Linked DNA regions of Homo sapiens: regions 1, 2 and 4 are each linked to region 3. Evidence: promoter capture Hi-C in 16 types of primary human blood cells and fetal thymus (Javierre and others, 2016). All regions are on one chromosome and are shown on one strand. The core of a region is centred on a gene start or on the middle of the fragment in contact, and the rest is flanking DNA. Distances in the headings are between cores, read along the strand shown. Region 1 has its middle 80 kb from the start of RAPGEF1. Region 2 has its middle 33 kb from the start of RAPGEF1. Region 3 holds the start of MED27 (mediator complex subunit 27). Region 4 has its middle 53 kb from the start of RAPGEF1.

Region 1 (5,553 bases), core at 40-2,539, 260 kb after region 3:
CAAAAAAAAAAATATGGAAAATAGAAAAGCAGAAAGAAAACTATCTCCCAGGCTGGGCACGGTGGTTCACACCTGTAATCCCAGCACTTTGAGAGGTTGAAGCAGGAGGATCATTTGAGGCCGGAAGTTCAAGACCAACCTGGCCAGCATAGCAAGCCCCCCATCTCTAAAACCAAATAAACAAAAAGAAAACTCTCCCCCACAATCCCTCCATCCACAGATGATGACCATGAGCACCTTGGTCTGTGTCTTCCCAGGACCATAGCGATGTGAACAGAGAGACATCCTATTTTATCTTGCTATGTTTTAACTGTGGTAAAATATATATAACATAAAAGTTACCATTTAAACCATTTTTAGGTGTATATTGTTTGCAGCCATCACCACCGTCCATCTCCAGAACGCTTTCATCTTCTAAACTGAAACTCTGTCCTATCAAGCACTCACTCCTCATTCCCCCTCCCCATCCCCTAGCAACCTCCATTCTGCCTCTATGGATTTGACAACTCTAGGGACCACATAGAAGTGGAATTCTGCAGCATTTGTCTTTTGTGACTGCCTTATTTCACTCAGCATCATGTCCTCAAGCTTCGTCCAGGTTGTAGCATGCGTCAGAATTTCCCTGTTTCTAAGGCTGAGATATAGAGATCCTATCTATGAAATAAAATCATGTTATGGGTACAGAGTCTCTGTACCAACTGCTTTTTCACACAACATAGATTGAAAACCTTCTCCCATCAGAAACCAAGACATGATTTCCTTCCTTCCACCACTTCTTCCACCAGGTACATTCTCCTGAAAGCAGCTCTGGCCTGGGAAGCCCAGACCCTCTTTCCAGCTTGGGCACCTGGGAGGGGGCAAGTCCCACCTTAGGCCTCACTTGATCCCTGTCCAGTGAGGGGCTCGAGCTCACTCTGAAGCCCCAAAGTGCCTGCTCGTAGGCCATGTCTGGCCTACAGACACGATTCATGTGAGCTTCAGAAGTTTTCATTTTGAATCAACATAAAACATCTGGAGCTTTCACACTGTGTCAAGGGTCCATAACACCACCCCTACCTCCTGTTCAGTGATTCACTGGGACTCACAGGACTTAGCATACTCTTTGTATCACAACTATGACTTATTACAGCAAAAGGACACAAAATAAAATCAGCAAAGGGAAAGGTGCATTGGACAAAGTCCCAGGCAAGAAGGTGCCAGTTTCCAAGGGTTCCTTCCCAGGGCAGTCTCATGGGAGCAATTCCTCCTGCAACGTGTTGTAGCAGCACAGTCGAAGTGTCGTCTACCAGGGAAGCTCATTAGAGACTCAGTGCCTGGGGTTTTTATGGAGATCTGGTCACATAGCATTCTCTATCTAGCATGAAACAAAATTCCAGACCTCCAGAGGGCAAGCAGGTGTTCTGCATAAACCCCATTTTGTGTGCAAACAGTTCAGGCACAGCAAAGCAGCACAGCAAAGTTAGAGAATGGTGGCAACTCTCTCAAGATCCAAGTTCCCAGATGCCAGTCAGAGGCTACTCTTGCAAGCAGGCCTTTTAAAGGAGAGCGGTCTCAAGCACGCTATCTTAGTTCTCTTCTGCACACACATCAAAATCCAGGATTTTAAAAGTCCAAGGCTTAAGACAAAAATACAAACCATTTTGCCACCTCTCTGGGGGACAATAGCATATCTTTAAGGCAGGTGAGTAGGTCTAGGAGTCTTCATTGTTCCATTCTTGCAAATTAGCTGTAGGTTTGAGAGTAGAAAGAAGTCTAATGAAGACGTGCAACCTACACTAAAAACTGCAAAATGCCATTGAGATAAATTAACAAAGATCTAAACAAATAGAGGTATATACCATGTTCACGGATTGGAAAACTACAATACTGTAAACATATCGCTTTCCCCTAATGAATATCTAAATTCAATGCAATTTCAATCAAAATCCCAGGAGGTTTCTTTCTCATGGAAATTGACGAGCTGAGCCTAAAATTCATATAGAAAAGCTTTGGGCCAAGAATAGCCAAGAAGATCTTGAGAACAAAGAACAAGGCTGAAAGACTCACACTACAAGACATCAGAAGAAAAAAAAAACGCCACAGTAATTAGGACAGTGTGGGATTGGCACAAGAATAGACAAACTGACCGATAGAACAGAGGGAATCCAGAAAGAGACCTCCCCTCCCCACAGTGTACTCAACAGGGCAACCCAGCCATAAATGGGGAAAAGAGGGTCATCTCAAAAACATACCTCACAAGGCGAAGCATGGTGGCTCATACCTGTAATCCCAGCACTTTGGGAGGCTGAGGCAGGAAGATTGCTTGGAGCCAGGGGTTTGAGGCCAGCCTGGGTAACACAGTGAGATACCATCTCTAAAAAGTTTAAAAATTATCCAGGCGCGGTGGTGGGTGCTTGTAGTCTCAGCTACTCTGGAGGCTGAGGCAGGAGGATTGCTTGAGCACAGGAGGTCAAGGCTGCAATGAGCTGTGATCATGCCACTGCACTCTCGCCTGGGCAACAGAGCAAGATCCTGTCTCTATGACAAAACAAAACAAACATATCTCACAAATAACAAAATATCCATTCCAGGTGGATTCTAGATCTAAATGTGAAATACAAACAATAAAGCATTTACAATAAAGCATTACACTTTTGTGATCTTGGACTTGGCAAAGATGTGTTAAATAGGACACAAAACTAACCATAAAAAAAATAAATTGGACTATAGTAAGAATGTTTATTCATCAGAAGAACCTACTAAGAGAGTGAAAAGGTCATCTGTACAGTGTAATTAATGCAATATAAGGATTCATACTTATAACGTGCCTACAAACCAGTAAGAAAAAGACAGACATCCCAGGAGATAAATGGGCCTGGATAGGCAGAGAGGCCAACAGGGTTCCCAAATGAACCGAAAAATACCCCATATGACAAGAGGCTCAGCTTCATTAGCCAACAGGGAAATGCAAATACAAGCCACAGTGCAATGTCAATACACACCCACCAGAAAAGCTAAAACAAAAAAGATAGAAAATAATAATACAAGTTGGTGAGGATGTGGAGCAATGCACCTCTCTTACACTACTGGTGGGAGGAAAATGAGAACAACACTTTGGAAAACAAAAGCCATGCACCAGAATGTTCATAGCAGCACTGTTTATAATTACCCAGAAGCCCAACAATAGTAGAATGGGCAGAGTGTAGTATTCTCACGCATTGGAATACTGTACGGCAAGGAAAATTAATCATCTACCTCAACACACAGCAACGTGGATGAGTCTCCCGAATGTATGCTGAGAAATAGAAGCCAGACACCAAAGGGTACACGTGTGTCATCCCATTTATACAAAGCACAGACACAGACACGAGGGGCCTTCAAAGGTGCTGGTTCCATGGGACCAGTTTGTGAAAATCCATCCATTCATGGGCACTCACTCATTCATATACTCTGGACACTTACAGGCAATTTACTGCGTGTGTTATTAAAGGGAAATAGTTGTCTTTCTAAATCCTCCCAACATTTCAGACATCACATGTGGTTTGATGTCTGGTGTGGTTGCCCCACACCAACCAGTTCTTTAGTTCTTGGCAGACATCGACCAGGTGTCCTGCAATTTAACTGGATTCTGACACTAGCTGCCCAGAGTTAGCGCAGACCCCACAATCCTACAGACTGCACCCCACATCAGAGGCCAAGTTGGGGCCTCCTGTACTTTTGAACCACTGACTATAAATTGGGGGTTCCCACAACCCCCTTTCGTGTTCAATAATTTGCTAGAATGGTTCATAAAACTCAGGGCAACATTCATTTACATTTACCAGTTTTTATAAAGGACACGACTCAGGACCAGCCAGTTGGAAGAGCTGCATCTGGCAAGACATGGGCGAGGAGCACACAGCTTCCATGCCCGCTCTGGGCACGGCAACCTCCCAGCATTTCCGTGTGTTCACCAACCCAGGTCTCCAAACCCCGGTGTTGAGTGTTTTTATAGAGGTTCCATTCCATTGGCGTGAATGAGGATTGGAGATTAACTCAATCTCCAGCCCCTCTCCCTTCCTCAGAGATGAGGGGGCTGAATGTTCCAGCCCTCCAATTTCACGGTTGGTTCCTGTGGCCACCAGCCCCCACCCTGAAGCTATCTAGGGGCCCCCAGCCACCAGTCATCTCATTAGCATATAAAAAGACACTCATCACTCCAGAGATGCCAAGGGTCTTAGAAGCTCTTGGATCAGGAACCGGGGACAAGACCAAATATTATTAAATATTATTAACAAAAGATGCTGCCATCACTTCATCACTCAGGAAATTACGAGGGTTTTAGAAGCTCTGTGCCAGGAGCCAAGAGCCAGGGCAGAGAACAAATACATATTTCCTATTATGTCAGTTATACGTAAATAAAAGTAAACACAAACATTTGGGGACAAAAAGATGGGGCGTGGCTGTGGCTTACCATACGCCACTCAGTTGACATTGTGACCTGTGACTTGGGTTATCTCCAAGACCCCTTCTCCTGGCCCCAAGAGGCCTCCAGTAGGACGTCTTTGTTCCCAGCTGTGATTTGGAATCGTGCCAAGAAGCCAGACGCCACTGTGCCGCCAGTAGATCCAGGTGCCATTGTTGTTTGCCACATTATAAAGATTCTGGTCCAGGCACGGTGGCTCACGCTTGTAATCCCAGCACTTTGGGAGGTGGAGGTGGGTGGATCACCAAGGTCAGGAGTTCAAGACCAGACTGGCCAAGATGGTGAAATCCCATCTCTAGTAAAAATACAAAAATTAGCCGGGCGTGGTGGTGCACGCCTGTAATCCCAGCTACTCAGGTGGCTGAGGCAGGAGAATTGCTGGAACCCGGGAGACAGAGGTTGCAGTGAGCCGAGATGGCACCCCTGCACTCCACTCTAGCCTGGGTGACAGAGCGAGACTCCATCGCAAAAAATAAATAAATGAATAAGGGTTCTGACAATTCAGAAATCTAAAACCTCCTGGGGAAAGCTGGCTCTCACCCTGGCTCAGGGTCCAGTTCCAAGACCAGCAGAGGGAAGCCACTGGGAAGCCCTGCCCAGCCCATGCCCCTCCAGGGAGAGAGGGCCTCTCCAGGCTCTCTGCTGACACAGGCTGGCACTGCAGGCTCTGCACAGCAAAGTCGGGCAGCCCAACCCATTGCTGATGGGACTTTAGAAGCCAGCTGCACAAATCTCAGCTCTGCCTCTTACTGGCTGTGTGACCCTGGCAAGTTATATAACCTCTCTGGACCTCCACTCCCTTATCTGCAGCATAGGCCTAAGCCCCCATTGATGGGGTTGTCGTGGACATTAACTGGAATATTCACAAAGCATCACTCAGCACCGAGCCTCGCACAGCCCTCGGCACACGGCACCTAGCACTCTGACTGTCATTACCATCGCTCTCCTTTCTCACTCTTTAGTTCATTTCTGCTTCTAGATTTCACCACTCTGGATGAAGTCTGTGAACTCACCATTCCTCAAACCTGTACGATAATGTCCAATATCCAACAGAAGTAGCAAAGTGACTTCTGAGATGAAGTCTTTATAACCCACGTGGTCAACACAAC
Region 2 (5,233 bases), core at 676-3,175, 310 kb after region 3:
ACATGTAAGTGGTGGGTGTTAAAATTATTCAACTGATCAGTTAGTCTACTGGTTTCAAGGCTGGTCTTGGGGAATCCCCTTCTGAGAAGCAGGGAAGGGGCAGTGGACCTAATGGTCTCTCAAGTCCCTTTCAAGCTCACACTCTGTGACCTACATGAGCTGTTGCCCTCCTGTCACTCCTCCTTCTAGCCCTAGGCTGTGGCCCTCCAGAAGGCCAGGGTCACTCTGCCTCTGGTTGCCCAGCAAACAGAAAGTCCTCTGTCAGAACGGACCAGCCAAGTGGGCAGAGTTCCTCACTGGGGCAGAGCTGCACTGGGGGCAGGTGTGCAATCTGGGGCAGGTGGGAAGGTGGCAAGGACAGGTGATGCCACCGTAACAGAAGGAGGAAGTGGCAGGGAGGCCCCCACAGCCCCAAAAGTATAGGTCATTCTTCCCCCCAGGTCAGAGGTCATCCCTCCCTCAAGGTCAGGGATAGGGCCCAACTTTCAGATGAGCCAGGAAAGCTCGCTGGATGGAAGAGCTCATGGAGAGTTTAAATTAAAGAGCCTGGTGTTGCTTCTGAAAAACAAACAAACAAACAAACAAACAAAAAACCCTCTCTCTGCATTGATTCCCTTTGAAAAGTATTTAGTTCAACACAGAGGAGAGGGTTGGAGGAAACAGAAGCCGGGAAGGGGGAATCACAGACGGGCTGTGATGTGACATGCATGGGCAAGAGGCCTGGCTCCCTAAGTCTGCAGTGCCAGTGACCTGGCCCTGCCTCAGGTGGGATTTGCCTCCTAAAAGGTAGCCACATTCAAACAGAGCTGAGACCTCCCAGCCCACCCCAGGGTCTGGCCGGCCAACCTGCCTTCTCCTGGCTGCCGTTCTGTCTGTCCTCTCTCCCCAGGAGAAGCCAGGGTGGTTGCAGTGACACAGCAAACTGCCTGGGCCCCAGGCAAGGAGCTTGGGGGCAGCCAGCTCTCTGCCACTGGGAGTCTCCTGAGACCTCACAAACTGCCCCAGCTTCCCTCAGTCTCCGCCGGTGTGCTGGCTCAGCAAGGCTGGTGAGCCCTGAGCTGTTGGACAGGGTGCAGCTGCCAGCTCCCAGCCACAGCCCGACTCCTTTTCCAGTGCCCCTTCCACAACTGCCACCCCAGCTGCCCTGGGGCCCCCAAACCCTGGGGGAGGCAGCTTAACCTGTCTGTGTCTCAAGCCATCTGTAAAATGAGGGCTTTCATGAAGCCGCAGGGGAGGGAGTGGGGCCCTGGGGTGCCGCAGAGGAGGCTGTGCAGGCAAAGAGCCAGAGCCCTTGAGCAGGGGGACTTTGAAAGTTACCAGAGTGACCTCCATTACCCAGGAACAAGAGGCAGCCAGGCCTCTGGACAGAGCAGAATCTGAGGCCTAAACATCAAACCCCTAGGCTCCTGGCTTCTTCTTTTGCTGAACCCCCCTTGGAGGCGTTGACTCATTCCCCTGTATTCTCCAAAGCAAGGGGAGAAGAAGGGCCACTCACCAACCCCAGCTGGACCCACAGACCCTTCCTGGCCCCACCTGCAAGTACCTGGGAGAGTGAATGGATTGGTCCTCCTTGGTCATGTGCTTACCTCGTCCAATCAGCTATGGGCACAGTCTGAACTCTTAGCTGAGAACCCCCACCCTCCGAGTGAGGGGAGGGGCATTCCCAACACCATTCGTCCTGAGTAGGAAGTCACTCCCACAGGTGTCCCAATAAGGGCCTGTAGCCCTGGTCTGGGAGTCAGAAAGAACTGAGTGGGAGAGGGTGAGTGGACTAGTCCAGTTCAGCACCTTGGACAGGTCACTCCAGTTTCTGATATAGCAAAGGAACTCATAGTCCCTGCCCGGCTGCCCGGCTGCCCAGCTGCCCTGCCTCACAGTGAGGCTGCCGAGGGGGCACCAAACAGCCAAGGGTGGGACTCAAATCCTCAGACACCTAGACTTCATCCAGGGCTCCCTCCACTACATCAACGCCCCAGGAGCAGGCTCTTCTCCCAGGCTATCCAAGGAGGGACCGACGCGGGCATTCATATATGAAGGCGTTCTAAAATGTAGGTTTTATTATTATTCAGGTATGGTGAGGCTAACAGATCAAGGGACTGCCATTAGAAAGAAGGTTTGTTGGCCGGGCGCAGTGGCTCAAGCCTGCAATCCCAGCACTTTGGGAGGCCAAGGCAGGCCGATCACGAGGTCAGGAGATCGAGACCATCCTGGCTAACAAGGTGAAACCCCATCTCTACTAAAAATACAAAAAAAAAAAAAAAAATAGCCGAGCGTGGTGGCGGGCACCTGTAGTCCCAGCTACTTGGGAGGCTGAGGCAGGAGAATGGCGTAAACCCGGGAGGCGGAGCTTGCAGTGAGCCGAGATCGCGCCACTGCACTCCAGCCTGGGCGACAGAGCAAGACTCCGTCTAAAAAAAAAAGAAGGTTTGTTATACCCACAGACCCCAAGAGGAGGGGACTCACCACATCACACAGGGCCAAACAGGAAACACAGGGCCACACAGGGAAACACCGAGGTCAGTCAAGAGGCAGAGGGAGCCAGGGGAAGGGGTGGCCAAGAGCCTTTATTGTGGTTCCCATGGGAATGAGCAGGATTGGGGTCAGCTCACTTGAATAATTTCAGGTTCTCTGGGGCATAGGGGCTGTTCCTAGTTGTCTGATACCTGGCCCTGGGGCGATTGGGGCAGGTAGGCAGGGGCCCAGAGTGTCAGAGTGAGGAAAAGGAGACTATTGGGGTGTGAACACCAGACTGCATGGTTTTCATATGAAAGGCGTGCTCCTAAGTGAGCCCTTTATTACCCCTGGGACTTGGCCCTGGGTGGGGGCAGTCCCTCCAGAGTCAGCAAGACCCCAAGATGTCAAAGCAATGGAAATGCAGAACATAAAAGGCAGGATTCATACAGAGGGTGGATGTCTCGGCCAAACTCCTGGGCAGCGACTGACCCCTCAGAGGCTCCCACTTGCCCAGCTCAGGAAGGGCGGTTCCCCAAGGAAGGGTGCTGGCATGGCGGTGAGTCAGCCCCAGTACCCACTCTGTCCCCCCGACCAGGCTGTCCTCCAACTCTCCACCTGCAGAGAGCCTCCAGCCATGCCTTGTCTTCCTCATCAGAGAGACCTGGTCCAGCCAGTGCTGGGCGGGGCTCTGAGCACAGCCCGCATGTCGGCGGCGGCTCCTGACATGGCTCCATCTAGCCTGACCGTGGACTGCTGGCGTGGGCCCAGGAGTCAGACTTGAGTTTGAGAACAGTCTCTGCTTCACAGTTGGGGGACCTCAGGGGAAATACGTAATCTCTTCAGACCCCAGAAAGAGCATTTTATTCAACCTCTTCATTTTTCTCCTCTTTTGAAGCCCAGAGAGATGGAGACGTGCCCAAGGCTGCAGAGTTAATTTGTACTCAGTGTACAGGGAATGGGTTTCTGATTCCAGGGCCCCATGTCAGCTCCACCAGCCTAACCATTTTACCATCCGCCTTTGCCACTCCCCTCCCTAGCGCCACTGGGCCCTGGCAACAGAGCAGGAGTGAGCAGAACCTTCCACAACCCCTCACTCTGGCTTCCCAGCCACTGCTGGCTTTGAAGCCGGTTTTTGTGACTTCGGAATATTGATTGTATTCCCTGCTGGCATGGCTGTTTGTTGGTCAGGCTTTTGTTTGGAAGAGTCCTCTTGCAGGCAGCCTGGGGTCACCTTCACATCCCGTCGGCCCTACCAGAGGATCTCCTGGCCACGGAGAAAGGCAGGGAAGAAAGGCAGGACCCTGGGGACACCCCATTCGATGGGGGTTATTCTTCCAGTGCAGCAGCAGCCCTGCTTCCAGGCAGAGGTGGAGAGGGCCTCCAAGTACCTTTGTGCAGCTGTGATTCTGCTGTCCAGAAAAGAAGAACTGGACCCCACAGAGGGCCAGAAGCCATTGCAGAGTTGAGCTGCAGCTTGGGCGGAGCTCAGGGATACCACAGGAGCTTCAGCACAAGCCAAGTGGGAGGAACAGAACAGGCATGGGCCAGGGGTCTGCAGGCTGGGCATGCCGGCCTCATGGCTGCACATCTGCTGTACAGTGCCTCAGGATGAAGCCAGGGCCTGCCACAGGGCCAAGTGGAGACTGCCAGCTCTGGAGCCAAGCGCACCTGGGTTAAATCCTCAGGCAGGCTACTCCACCTCATGGTCTCAGTTATCATATCCCTAAAGTGGGGATAATAAAAGTACTCCCTCATAGGCAGACAGGAAGAAGCAATGAGATGATGAGTGTACTTGACTCACTGGAAGGGCCCACTGATCCATCATCCGTGAGTCCTTTTTTTTTTTTTTTTTTTTTTTTGAGATAGGGTCTCACTCTGTCTTCCAAGCTGGAGTGCAGTTGTTGCAATCTCGGCTCACTATAACCTCCGTCTCCCAGGTTCAAGCGATTCTCCTATCTCAGCCTCCCAAGTAGCTGGGACTACAGACACGCACCACCACGGCCGGCTGATTTTTGTATTTTTTGGTAGAGACGGGATTTCACCATGTTGTCCAGGCTGGTCTCAAACTCCTAACCTCAAGTGATCCACCCGCCTTGGCCCCGCAAAGTGCTGGGATTACAGGCGTGAGCCATGCCCGGCAAGCGATTACTCTTAAAGTAACACCTCCAGCCTTGTTTCCTGTTACCCTCTCACTTGCACTCTACATTCTAGCCTCCCTGAATTTCCGTCTGCTTCTGGAAGCTTCCATGCTCTCTCACTCCTCCAGGCTTGCGCACATGCTGTGGAATACTCCCCCAGCTCCTCTTTCCCCAGCTAAGTCTTCCCCAGCTTCTAGGTCTCAGTCTTAATGTCACCTCCTCCAGGAAGCACTCCCGCTCTTGCTGCGTGCCCTGCAGCACCTGTGCTTTCTGCATCCCAGCAGCCCTCACAGGGGATTCTCCATTTAACTATCTGTCCCTCCCACTGGGATATAGGCTCCCTGGGGTTGGGGCCCACATCTGTCTTGTGCACCCCTATACGTCTGGCATCCAATGCCTGAATGAATGAAGTTCCACATCATAAAGGAGTTACCTTGGCGAGCAAGGAGGCTCCATCTCAGGCATTAGGGGTTATTATTATCAAGTAGGGGCTAGTAGGTGATGAAATAATGAGGCTAGAAGTCCTCGGTGCCTGAGAGGGGGCGATCATTGATGACTTGCTGGCTTGAAGTTTTGGGGGCAGGTGAGATATTCCCTGGGAAATATAGTCTTTCCCACGAGGCTCAAGAGGTTGTGTTGTG
Region 3 (5,445 bases), core at 610-3,109:
CAAATGATTCACCCACCTTGGCCTCCCAAAGTGCTGGGATTACAGGTGTGAGCCACAGTGTATGGCCTGACACAGATATTTCTTGAAAAAGTATAGGTCAGTCAGTTATTTTGTCACGTTTTTCAGTTTGAGTTCTATTGATGTCCTGATTAGATTCAGGTTATGCACTGCTGGCAAGAATATCATGGAGGTCATGTTGTGCTCTTTCCAGTGCATTGTATCAGGAGGTGCACAACATGTCCCGTCACTGGTGATGTTGACCTTGGCCTTTTGGTTAAGCTGGTGTCTGCCATGTTTCTCCACTGTGAAGTCACTATTAAGTCACTATCCATCCCCCCTTATGTTTACATTAATGAATTGTTTAAAATTTTTTGGTAAAATATACATAATATAAAATCAACCATTTTCACTGTTTCTAAGTGTCCAGTTCTGTGGCATTAAGTACAATCACATTGTTGTATGGCCATCACCACCATCCAGCTGTAAAACTTTTCCAAGTCTGTACTCTTTAAGTACAGACTTAAATATGGCCCTTTGCAATATTATGCTGAAATCTTCCTCTCTACAGCCTTCCTACAACTGGTTATTGTTATTGCCACTAGTTAACCAAGGAGGACTCTTGTCTTGGGTTGACATGAAGGTGAGTTGAAGGTCACAATCATGATCTGCCTCCTGCTCTCCTCTTCTCTGCTCCAAGCTATGCAACCCCAGCTCCTCTAAGGAAAGAACATGAGGACTTGGGCAGGTTCCCTTTAGTAAAAAGATAATAAATTTTCAGAAACCTGTCTATAGCCAACAGGACAAAGAGACATTGAATTTTTCCATAAAGCCAGATTTGGCCAACATTTTGTTGGTTTTATTTAAATCCCAAACCTTCTCTTTCTTCCACAACCTCTATGCTATGTATGTTATTTTCAGAGGTGTGTGTTCACTGTAAACCAGCCACCATTCTACTTTCTGTCTCTAACATTTTGACTACCCTAAACACCTCATATAAGTGGAGTCACACAGAATTTTGTTTTTTTGTGACTGGCTTATTTCACTTAGCATAATGTCTTCAAGTTTCCTCCAGGTAGCATATGTCAGAATTTTCTTGCTTAAGCCTGAAGAATTTTTCATTGTATGCCAGTATCACACTTTGTTTATTCATCAGTTTATGGACACTTGGGTTTCCCCTGCCTTTTGGCTATTTGGTGAATAATGCTGTTATGAACATGTGTACAGGTATTGAGTCCCTGCTTTCGCTTCTTTTGGGTATATGCCCAGAAGTGGAATCTCTGGATCATTATTTTCCTCTTCTTAATTAATAAGCATCTTGGGGGACGATACTTTGAGATTACCTAAAAAGCCTGTTATTTTTCTGACACTTTCACCCACTAGTTTTAGCATCCATCGATTTCTATCTGAATCAATTATTCTAATGGCTGTCAAATGGCAATTTTCTAATTCCATCACTCTTTCTGCATTTATGAGCTGGCATTCTATTGGAAAGAAGAAACTTTCCTTCTCCCCGCTTTATTTATGAATATGGACTCATTTTATTGAATGGGCTATGTTCCTTTCCTTTTTACACTATTGCTCTGAGCAATTCTTTTCCCTATGATTCCCCAGAGTGCAAGTTTGGGGAAATGCGGGAACTTTCTGTATTTCTTTGTCACCATTAAGCAAACCGGGAGTGCAACCTGACTTCCCCAAGTTGAGAAAAATCACTTTCCTGCCCATGCATTAGTTTAGCTCAAGGGGAAACCCTTTTTCGAAAGTGCTTTCTGGGTAGCCCCGCGCGAACTGCATTTCCCAGAGGTCTTCGGAGATACGTCATCAGCGAGCGCGGCTTTTTTGCTTGCGAAGCCGGCTTTGGAGAGCTGCTGTGGCGGCGGCAACATGGCGGACGTGATAAATGTCAGTGTGAACCTGGAGGCCTTTTCCCAGGCCATTAGTGCCATCCAGGCGCTGCGCTCCAGCGTGAGCAGGGTGTTCGACTGCCTGAAGGATGGGATGCGGAACAAGGAGACGCTGGAGGGCCGGGAGAAGGCCTTTATTGCGCACTTCCAGGACAACTTACATTCGGTCAACCGGGACCTCAAGTAGGTACCGGCTGAAGGGGCCGGGGTCGGGGACCGGCCCCGCTCCGACCCTGCCCCTACGTCGCTCGAGTCTTCCCAGGCAGGGGCTGTTCTCCGTTTCCCTTGATCCCTGTTCTTTCTCTTCTTGTTCTCCAAGCCTCTGCCTGTCCCTCAGGGACATCTTAACACCATCCCCGCTTTCTCGTCTTGCTTCTCCTGGCCTCCTGGTCCTGTTTGTCTTCCGCCATCCTCGACCTCTTCTGTGGCGGTTCCATTCCTAACAAGGAGGCATGCTTTTCCCATGAACTTCCACTTCTCTGAGCTTGGCAGGTTTCTCACCTGTAGGCCCTCTGTGCCCCATCACGTCTGATCCGAATGTAGTAATAGTACAGACAGGACCTGGTCAGTCGGCTCCAAACCCAAGTGCACCCGATCTGATTAGCCCCAATTCCCCGGCCCTGAACTTGGACTTCATCAGTTCCACCACCACCCACCCGCAACCACGACGGACCGGCCAGGCCTTGAGCTGTCTTCACCTTTTCCCCTAACCGCTCCCAAACCACCTGATCAGTTTCCTCACTCCCACTCCTGTGGGAGTTCCTTCCGCAGTAGAGACCTACTCTCTAATCTCTTAACCAGTTTAATTACTTATGCTTAACGCCCCTGCTTCTTAATTTGTAGTCTTTTAGGGTTAAGGATTCCACTTTTCCTCCTCTTCCTTACAAAGTACCTTCTTCACTTACACTTTTTAAGTGTTGTAAGAATTAAATGAGAGGATGTTTGTAAAGGGCCTGGCACATAGTAGGCACTTCTTGATTGCTTAGGTCCTGAACTTGCCTTCTGTTTTATAAGAGAGTCAGTCCTTCCCAGGAAGGTTAGAATTTCAGGATTTTTGCCTTTTACTTCTCAGAACTGACCTGAGTAGGGGAAAGCATTTGGTGAGCTAGTCATCCTTTGATTTCTGGACTGGTTGGATTTTTGTTTTTTCAACTTGGTCTCCTTAGTAACCAGATGGAAAGAGGAGGTAGGATGGAGGAGGAGGAGGAGGAGGTGGCCAAATGATGGGTGCCTTTTTGTTTTCCCCCTAAGTAGTTGCCGTAAATCACACAGCCCTCCTCAACGCCCACATCCGCTTGCTGTTCTCTGGCACCGCGCCGAGCACCAGTTAATACTTTCTCTGCTTCAGGGGATGCACTGGCTATTCTTCCCTATCTTCTGTTTTCTTTCCATTTTCTCTCCGAGTTACTTCCCTTTGTAATGTTCAGGATATTATAACCCTTCACCATTTTAAATAGAAACTTTAAGAGTGCTGACATTATCCTTTTGCCTTCTTAAATCTTTGTACAGTAGTGCCAAGAAGAAGGTGGCTGATGATTCCAAAATGAATGTGGCATAAGAAGCTGTTCCTAGAGAGTCTTTTGTTGGCAGTTTGGGACTGGCCCCTCAGAACGTACTCCTGGAATGTGCTCTTGTTGGCTCGCTTTCCCAAGCTTCTCTAGGGTTTTCCTGCTAGACTGAAGTGTGTTTGTTTGACACAGCCACCTCAGTGGTGTCTTCCCATTCCATTTGTTTATTTTATCTCTTCTTTGTTTTGTTAAGTTTTACCATCTGTGAAGCATCATGTACAAATCTATCCCTATGTGAATGATAAATAATCATCATTTAATCAGGTACTTGCTGTTCTGCCAAGTGTAATGATCTGCACGTGGGTCTGAAAACTCTTAGTGAGAGGCAGTGTTATACCACATTTCAAAATTCCAGAAAGTCTCCTCCCCACTGCAGGGATGAATTTGAGTTGTTAATTTCTGATTATGGGGGTCTTATTGATTCTACTGCCCTTACCTTTTTTTTCCTCCTTTGGAATGGCACCAGAAGCTCTGTTTTAAAGTCAGATAAACTCTCATTTAGGGTTTTTTTTTTTAAGTGTCCCAAGTATTTTTTAACCTTTCAAAAAGTATTTCTTCTTAAGGGACTTCTGATGGATGGTTTGAAGAGCAGTCTTTGATCCTGGGGGCTGGCTTTACCCTGGAGTGTAAATGGGCTTAGGTTTATTTGCCTTGTCTCTTTGCTTTTCAGTGAGCTGGAACGTCTGAGCAATCTGGTAGGCAAGCCATCTGAGAACCATCCTCTTCATAACAGTGGGCTGTTAAGCCTGGATCCTGTGCAGGACAAAACTCCTCTCTATAGTCAACTCCTTCAAGCATATAAGTGGTCAAACAAGGTAAGGGAGATGTAATAAACGGAGCTAATATATGGAAAACCAAGTTTTCTTATATTCCATACATGCAGAAAGCAAGAGTATGTTTTTATTGCTTTTTATGTTCTTGATTCAGCATGGGGTTATAGAGTTGGAAGTTGTAGAATTTTTCTGTAACCTATTTTGTAGTCCTTTGAAGTCTTTGGGGATTCATGATGTTCAGGTGATTACATGTTAAAAATTCTAACTCAGGTGTATTTAACCTGGAGACTGGGTATAGGGAGCAACTCTTATGAACCCCTTAAAATTATATGCAGTATGTTGTGGTATGTGCATGTATATCTAGGGAAGGCTTCCTAGCTTTTGTCAGGTTCGCAGAGGAATCTGTGGCCCCCAGGAGGTGTCTAAATGTTTAGCTGCGCACATTATGTTCTTGTATTGTCTTTTCCTCTGTCACAGATGGATGAGCATCACTAGAATACCGTTTGTTAGATGACTCTCTAATTACTTAGATGCCACCTAAGGGAGATTGTTCTTAACATGCTCTGTAGAGTTTGATATTCATGGTTTCTTTCAGCAGGCAGGCCTGTGGCAGAGACCCTAGGACAGCTGTAAGTTGCAAACTAAACTGTAGCTGAAAAATAACAGAAACAATTAGGCTCATGAATCTGGAAACGGTTCGTTTGTTTACTAACAAGTTCCTTTTGTTTGGGTGCTATGTGGTGTGGCGTACATGTGTGTATGGGCTTTTTTTGTTGATTGGGAACTAGAATATATATTTTAGGAATGATTTTGGAAGCTCTTTTATTATACTGTGCTGCCTCTTTGAATAATTGTTGTTAGAATTGTTGGTTGTTTAACTGTATGCAGGGTTGTGCCCCCTCCAGTAATCCATTGTCATTTTCCTCGTTTCTGTGGTTTTTTTTCCCCTTAGGTCTTGAGTAAGAGCTAAAGCTTGAGAGTTTTTCTGGTGTGCAGAATTTTTTCTTTGAATTTCTCTTTGAGGGTGTTTTAGTATTCTTTGGTTTGAAGTGGAACCGTGGGAGCTGCTTTGTGATTCAGGAAGGTGATTTATCATGGGTTACTAAAGAAAGAACTTGAACCTTGAATGCATACATTTAGCCTGTAAAGCCTTTCCCCAAAACTCTGGACTGCCAGTGACAGAAACCCAGCTGGGTCTAGATT
Region 4 (5,369 bases), core at 2,107-4,606, 290 kb after region 3:
AACCGCTTTGTGGTCATTTGTTACAGCAGCCACGGGAAACTAACACAATGTCCAAGGCCCTGTCCTGGTCTGAGGCATCAGGGACAGCACCCTAGAGGAAGCGACATTTGATCAGAAGCCTGAAAGCTAAAGGAGGTATATGAGTTAGCAGCAGAGAGCATTCCAGGCTGAGGAAATAGCAGGTGCAAGGGCCCCAAGGCAGGAAATAGGTTCTGAAGGAAGGAAAGACCCAGAGGACTGGCACATTGGGGAGGGAGGAGGTAATGCCAGATGCTTCTTGAGAGGTGGGCAGAGGAAGACCCCCTTCCCCAGAGGAGTCTGTACTTTCTGCTGAAAGAATAGGATGCTGCTTCCAGCCTGGAATCAGAGAGGTCAGCCCCGTGGGACCTGAGTCTGGCTGGTCTCTGCCCTTCCCATGCCTGCGGCTCTGGATTAATACTAGCTGATGGACGGATGGGCTTCGTTGTGCTGTGTTCGAGGAGTGCAGTTCACCCTGAGTGTATCTGTGGTGTGCTCACTGCCTCCCAGGACCGTGTGTCACCCCTCCCTGTCTCTGCGTCCATCCTGAGTCCTTTGTCCCATGTCAGACAACCCCTTGCAGTGTACCTGTCTCCTCAACCCCCAATTCCTGTACCCCAAGCTTGTCGTGTTAACAGGAGACTTCCCTTCCCTTTGTCACCCTTCCCTTTGTCATCCTCAGACTGAATTAAAATAGCATTGCCACAGAGCCGTATCCGAGGAATTCCGAGTCCCCGGTGACTTCATTAGCTCCAGCGCCTTGAGTCATTCGAACCACGGTGCTTTCTTGTCCCGTCCCCTCCTCCCTGCAGAGGGGGTCTTATTAGCTGGGAAATATGAACCACTTAGTAGTTGCATTAACTCGGTGCTTCCAACACGTTTCATCTCTGCCTTTCTTCCCGCCCTGCCCTCTCCCGTGTCTCTGCCTCTCTACTCATTAGCCGGAGGTGCCTCCACTCTGGCTTTCTCCCTGGCACTCCATCGCTCTACCCCTTCCCTTCCTCGTCTCTCACATCTGTTTCAGAATCAAAGGATGTGAACACCTTCAACCAGAACCTCCTCCTTTAGGGAATGCTTAATGCCCACGGGCTCGGCCTCCCCCACATGGCATCAGGACCCTGCCCACCTCACCTACACCAGGTGCCCAGAGGTGTCCAGGAGCTTCTGAAGTGGGCATCATGCATGCCCCTACAGCGGTTTCAGCCGCAGCCCCCACATGGCCCCTCACCCTGCTCCCCTTTGCTGTCCTGGCCTCTACCCACAGTCCGGACCTGGGGTACTTCCCTCCGACCCTGGAAGAATGTCAGTGTCCCCACCAATGGGGCCGCTGCCAGGAGCTGCCAGACCCCCGTCCCCCACATTCCCTGGGGATGCCTCCATGGTCATCTGGGCCCAACAGGAGCGTGGCTGGAGTGTGGCCTGCTCCAGAGGCCACCAGCTGACCCTCAGCCACCCCACCTCTCCCTGCCCTCCCTCTGGGGGTCAGCAGCCATCCATGGCCACCTCACACACTCTCATGTGTTCTGGTGTCTCCTGCTCCTACCTCGTAAAAACCTCTCTTTATGCTGGGCATGATGGCTCACACCTGTAATCCCAGCATTCTGGGAGGCCGAGGCAGGCAGATCACTTGAGGCTGGGAGTTCAAGACCAACCTGGGCAACATGTGAGACCTCAAATAAAAAATATTTTAAAATAGGCTGACCGTGATGGCTCACACCTGTAATCCCAGCACTTTGTGAGTCCAAAGTGGGCAGGTCACCAGATGTCAGGAATTCGTGATCACCCTGGCCAACATGTACTAAAATACAAAATTTAGCTGTACATGTTGGTGCATGCCTGTAATCCCAGCTACTTGAGAGGCTGAAGCAGGAAAATTGCTTGAACACGGTTGGCGGAGGTTGCAGTGAACCAAGATCACACCACTGCACTCCAGCCTTGGTGACAGAGTAAGACTCCATCTCAAAAAAAATTTTTTTTAGTAAAAAAATAAAAGAAATTACCCAGGTGTGGTGGTGCATGCCTGTAATCCCAGCTACTTGGGAGGCTGAGGCAGGAGGATCACTTGAGCCTGGGAGGCAGAAGCTGCAGTGAGCCATGATCACACCACTGCACTCCAGCCTGCGTGACGGAACAAGACCCTTTCTCAAAAAACAAAAACAAAAATAAAAAAACCCTCTCTCTCCTCCCAGTTCTCCTGAGAAGGCTGCAGTGGGCATGGCTAGGGTGTCACAGACCCTGCCGTGTGGGGAAGGGGCTACTGTCACAGCAACCAGCATAGCCTGGAAGGACATCAGTGCTCATGCAGAGAGAGAGGGAAAACAGACCAAGACCCAGGTGGGGTCCCGGAGGCTGAAGGGGGTGTCAGGCCGCTGTTGGTCTCAGGGGAGCCTTCCCTGTCACTCCCACTTCTGGGCTCGTGCCTCCAACTGGGTTGAATGTAACCAACTTTCACTGGGCATTCCTTGTGCCAGGCCCTGTGCTAGGCTCTGGGCATTTGGGGGCGAAACGTCGAGAGAGAGATCATAAGTAAACAGTACAAGGGAGGGAGGGGCCGGAGCCTAGTCCTGCAGCCCGACAGCCTCTGTTCTCCAAACACCAAGTGGGCCTCTGTGCTTGGAGCCTGGGGAGAACACTGGGGCACCCTCTCCTTTCCCTCAAGGGGTTCGAGGGTGGCACAGCAGGCACAGACTCCAGGCGTCTGCCACGGTGGCGCTCAGCATGCTGGAAGGTGGGGCTGGGTTGGAGGGGCCTGGGTCAGATTCTTGCCTCTGCGGCTTACAAGCTGCATGACCTTGGGCAGACTGTTTCACTCTCAGGACCTCAGTTTTGGCATTTCTAAAATGGGATGATAGCATGCGCCCCACCGTGTTGCAGTGAGGATAGAATGCAGCCACTCGCCCAGGGCCATGGCTCAGTGCCCGGCACGCAGTAAGCACGCAGCAAGCTCTTGGTGACAGTTACCATCACAGTGGCATTCGTGGGAAGTGGGGATAGGGGCTTGTATGCGGGCAGGAAGGAGGGGAAACTGGCCCTGAGTGGAGTACCATGAAGGAGCTGGCATTTGGACTGGGCTCAGGAGGACCCGGAAGCTTGCATTAAGGAAAAAGCATTTGTGTCCCAGGCCTCTGGACCTGCTGGTCAGCACTATGAACCTGAGCACCGTGGCCTGTGCCCTCCACCGCCGTGCACGCTCACTGAGTTCCTGGTGGGTGCTGGTAGCCAGGGCTGCCAAGCTGCACAAGTCCAAGGGGGGCCATTCACACAGAAGCTGAGGTGGAAGGAGCCCCCGGGGCTCTGTGACGCAGCAGCCCTGCCTCGGCCCGCACTGGCTGGGCACTGAGGACACGGCAACCAGCAGACCAGCCCCTGCACTCATGGAGAGCCAGGACCGTGCGCTGACAGGATGGGAGACCCGTGGCCAGCAAGCCCTACAGCCACAGTGCAGAACCTCCCAGGCCTGGGTCCTTTCCAGGTGTCGAGTGCTCCGGGGCCCCGCAGGCTCCTGCCTCTCCCTGCAGAAATCGCTGCTGGTCCTGCATTGTGGTTGGAAGGTCCCAGCGGATCAGGGAAGTAATGAGCAAGCTTGCCCTCCCCACCGCTTAGCCCACGGCTCTGCCAGGCCAATTAAGCTGCCTGCTGATCACCTGCGCAGGGGAGAGCCCAGCCGGGGTTGGCTGAAGTAAAATGATCTCCGTGCTCCATTGTAGAGAGGAGAGCTGTCGCCCCAAATCCAGCTCACATACTTGTGCCTTCTGGGTCAGGTTTGCTTTGCAGAAACATGGTTCTGCAGCAGAACCTCATGAGGGGTTGCAAACTGCTGCAGAGTGCAAGTATCCATTCATTCATTCTTTCATTCATTCATTCATCCAGCAAATGCTGGTTGAGAGGCCCAGGGTGTCAGGTTCTGCACACAGACAAGGGGGACACAGGCCTTGCGTGGGTCTCACTTCAGTTGGGGAGCTCTGTGAAGGAGCTGGCACAGGGGCTGGGATTTGGAGGGGTCAGGGAGTAAATTGGAGAGGATGCTGGAAGGTGATTCTCCAGGGAGAGAAGAATGCCAGTGGATGGATCCAGAGGGAAGCATGGGGCAGAGGGCACAGCGGCCCTCCTGGCTTCGTGTATTCAGGTGCTAGGCCCACTGTAACACGTTACCTCAAACTGTGTGGCTTAACTCAACCTCCATTTCTTCACTGTTCAGAAGGCCAAAAGTCCTAGGCCAAGGCAGGCGGATCACATGAGGCCAGGAGTTCAAGACCAGCCTTGCCAACATGGCGAAAACCTGTCTCTACTAAAAATACAAAAATCAGCCGGGCATGGTGGCACATGCCTGTAATCCCAGCTACTTGGGAGGCTAACGCGGGAGGATTGCTTGAGCCCCGGAGGTTGCAGTGAGCCAAGATCATGTCAGTGCACTCCAGCCTGGGTGACAGAGTGAGATTCTCTCTCAAAAAAAAAAAAAAAAAAAAAAAAGCCGCAAGTCTAAAATCAAGGCGTTGGCAAGCAGGTTCCTCCTGGAGGCACTGAGGGAGGATCCGTTCCAGCCTCTGCTCTCCAGTGGCTGGGGTGTGTCTCAACTCATGATTGCACCCCTCCCATCTCTAGCTCTGTCTCCCCGCTGCTGTCTTCCCTTAGTGTCTCTGTTTCTTCTTTTTTGTCATCAGGACACCAGCCGTTGGATTCAGGGACCGCTCTAATCCAGTAGAGCTTCATTTTAATTTAACCAATGACACCAGCAAAGACTGTACTTCCAAATAAGGTCATAGCCACAAGGGTGAGGACTTCACTTGGGGTTAGGACTTGAACTTTTCTTTGGGGAGCCACCGCTCAAGCCATGGCACTTTGGTATTCTTGAGTGTGGTCTCAGCCTGAGTCTGGCTGAGACTTGACGCTGATCCTAACTCTCTTGCCTCCTTGGGGAGCCCAGGACGGTGCAGTGTTGTGGGGTCCCAGAGCAGGAAGGTAGCATCATGCAGCAGGAGGCACCAGAGAAACTGTTGGGCCGTTTCTTACACAGTTCAGCCATAGAGCTCCACATCAGTCCCTCCTGTCTAAATGCGGTCACCGGTCTTGGGCCTCCCTGACTCTCCCAGTAGGAACCAAGGGAAATACTGACTGCCAAAGGAGCCAAAACCCCAGGCCACATTGGGGTCCCCCACAGAGCCCGGACCCAGAGAAGGCATCTGGGGTGCTCCAGAGAAAACCCCCACAGGCCAGAGTGTCTGACCTGGCTGGGCACAACTGACCCCACCTCCAGACTGCCCAGCACTCCCACCTTCCCCAAAGCCTCTTTATTTTTTTCCCCCACCTGCCTGTGGTTTTCTCACCCCCAGGCCTGGAGTGCCCTCTCTCTG

Evidence for each region. The method cuts DNA at HindIII sites, captures the fragments that hold promoters and counts their contacts. A CHiCAGO score of 5 or more calls a contact.
Region 1: a contact is called between a fragment that was not itself captured here and the fragment with the promoter of MED27 in region 3, in 1 of 17 cell types (endothelial precursors). The highest score is 6.4, in endothelial precursors.
Region 2: a contact is called between a fragment that was not itself captured here and the fragment with the promoter of MED27 in region 3, in 1 of 17 cell types (endothelial precursors). The highest score is 5.1, in endothelial precursors.
Region 4: a contact is called between a fragment that was not itself captured here and the fragment with the promoter of MED27 in region 3, in 1 of 17 cell types (endothelial precursors). The highest score is 5.6, in endothelial precursors.

What each region holds. Positions count from the first base shown.
Region 1 is chr9:131,816,815-131,822,367 of GRCh38, reverse strand. No RefSeq gene overlaps it. Among named protein-coding and RNA genes, the nearest start is that of RAPGEF1, 80 kb to the right of the region's middle. RefSeq lists an enhancer at 4,997-5,498. The HindIII fragment of the contact is 1,398 bases long and covers 591-1,988 here.
Region 2 is chr9:131,770,640-131,775,872 of GRCh38, reverse strand. No RefSeq gene overlaps it. Among named protein-coding and RNA genes, the nearest start is that of RAPGEF1, 33 kb to the right of the region's middle. The HindIII fragment of the contact is 5,545 bases long and covers 1-4,697 here.
Region 3 is chr9:132,076,281-132,081,725 of GRCh38, reverse strand. It overlaps MED27 (mediator complex subunit 27), which reads left to right and starts at 1,859. Exons shown (of 8, transcript NM_004269.4): 1 at 1,859-2,084; 2 at 4,140-4,284. The coding sequence starts at 1,882. RefSeq lists enhancers at 1,683-1,962, 4,886-5,445. The HindIII fragment of the contact is 6,112 bases long and covers 1-3,555 here.
Region 4 is chr9:131,790,027-131,795,395 of GRCh38, reverse strand. No RefSeq gene overlaps it. Among named protein-coding and RNA genes, the nearest start is that of RAPGEF1, 53 kb to the right of the region's middle. RefSeq lists an enhancer at 867-1,371. The HindIII fragment of the contact is 493 bases long and covers 3,110-3,602 here.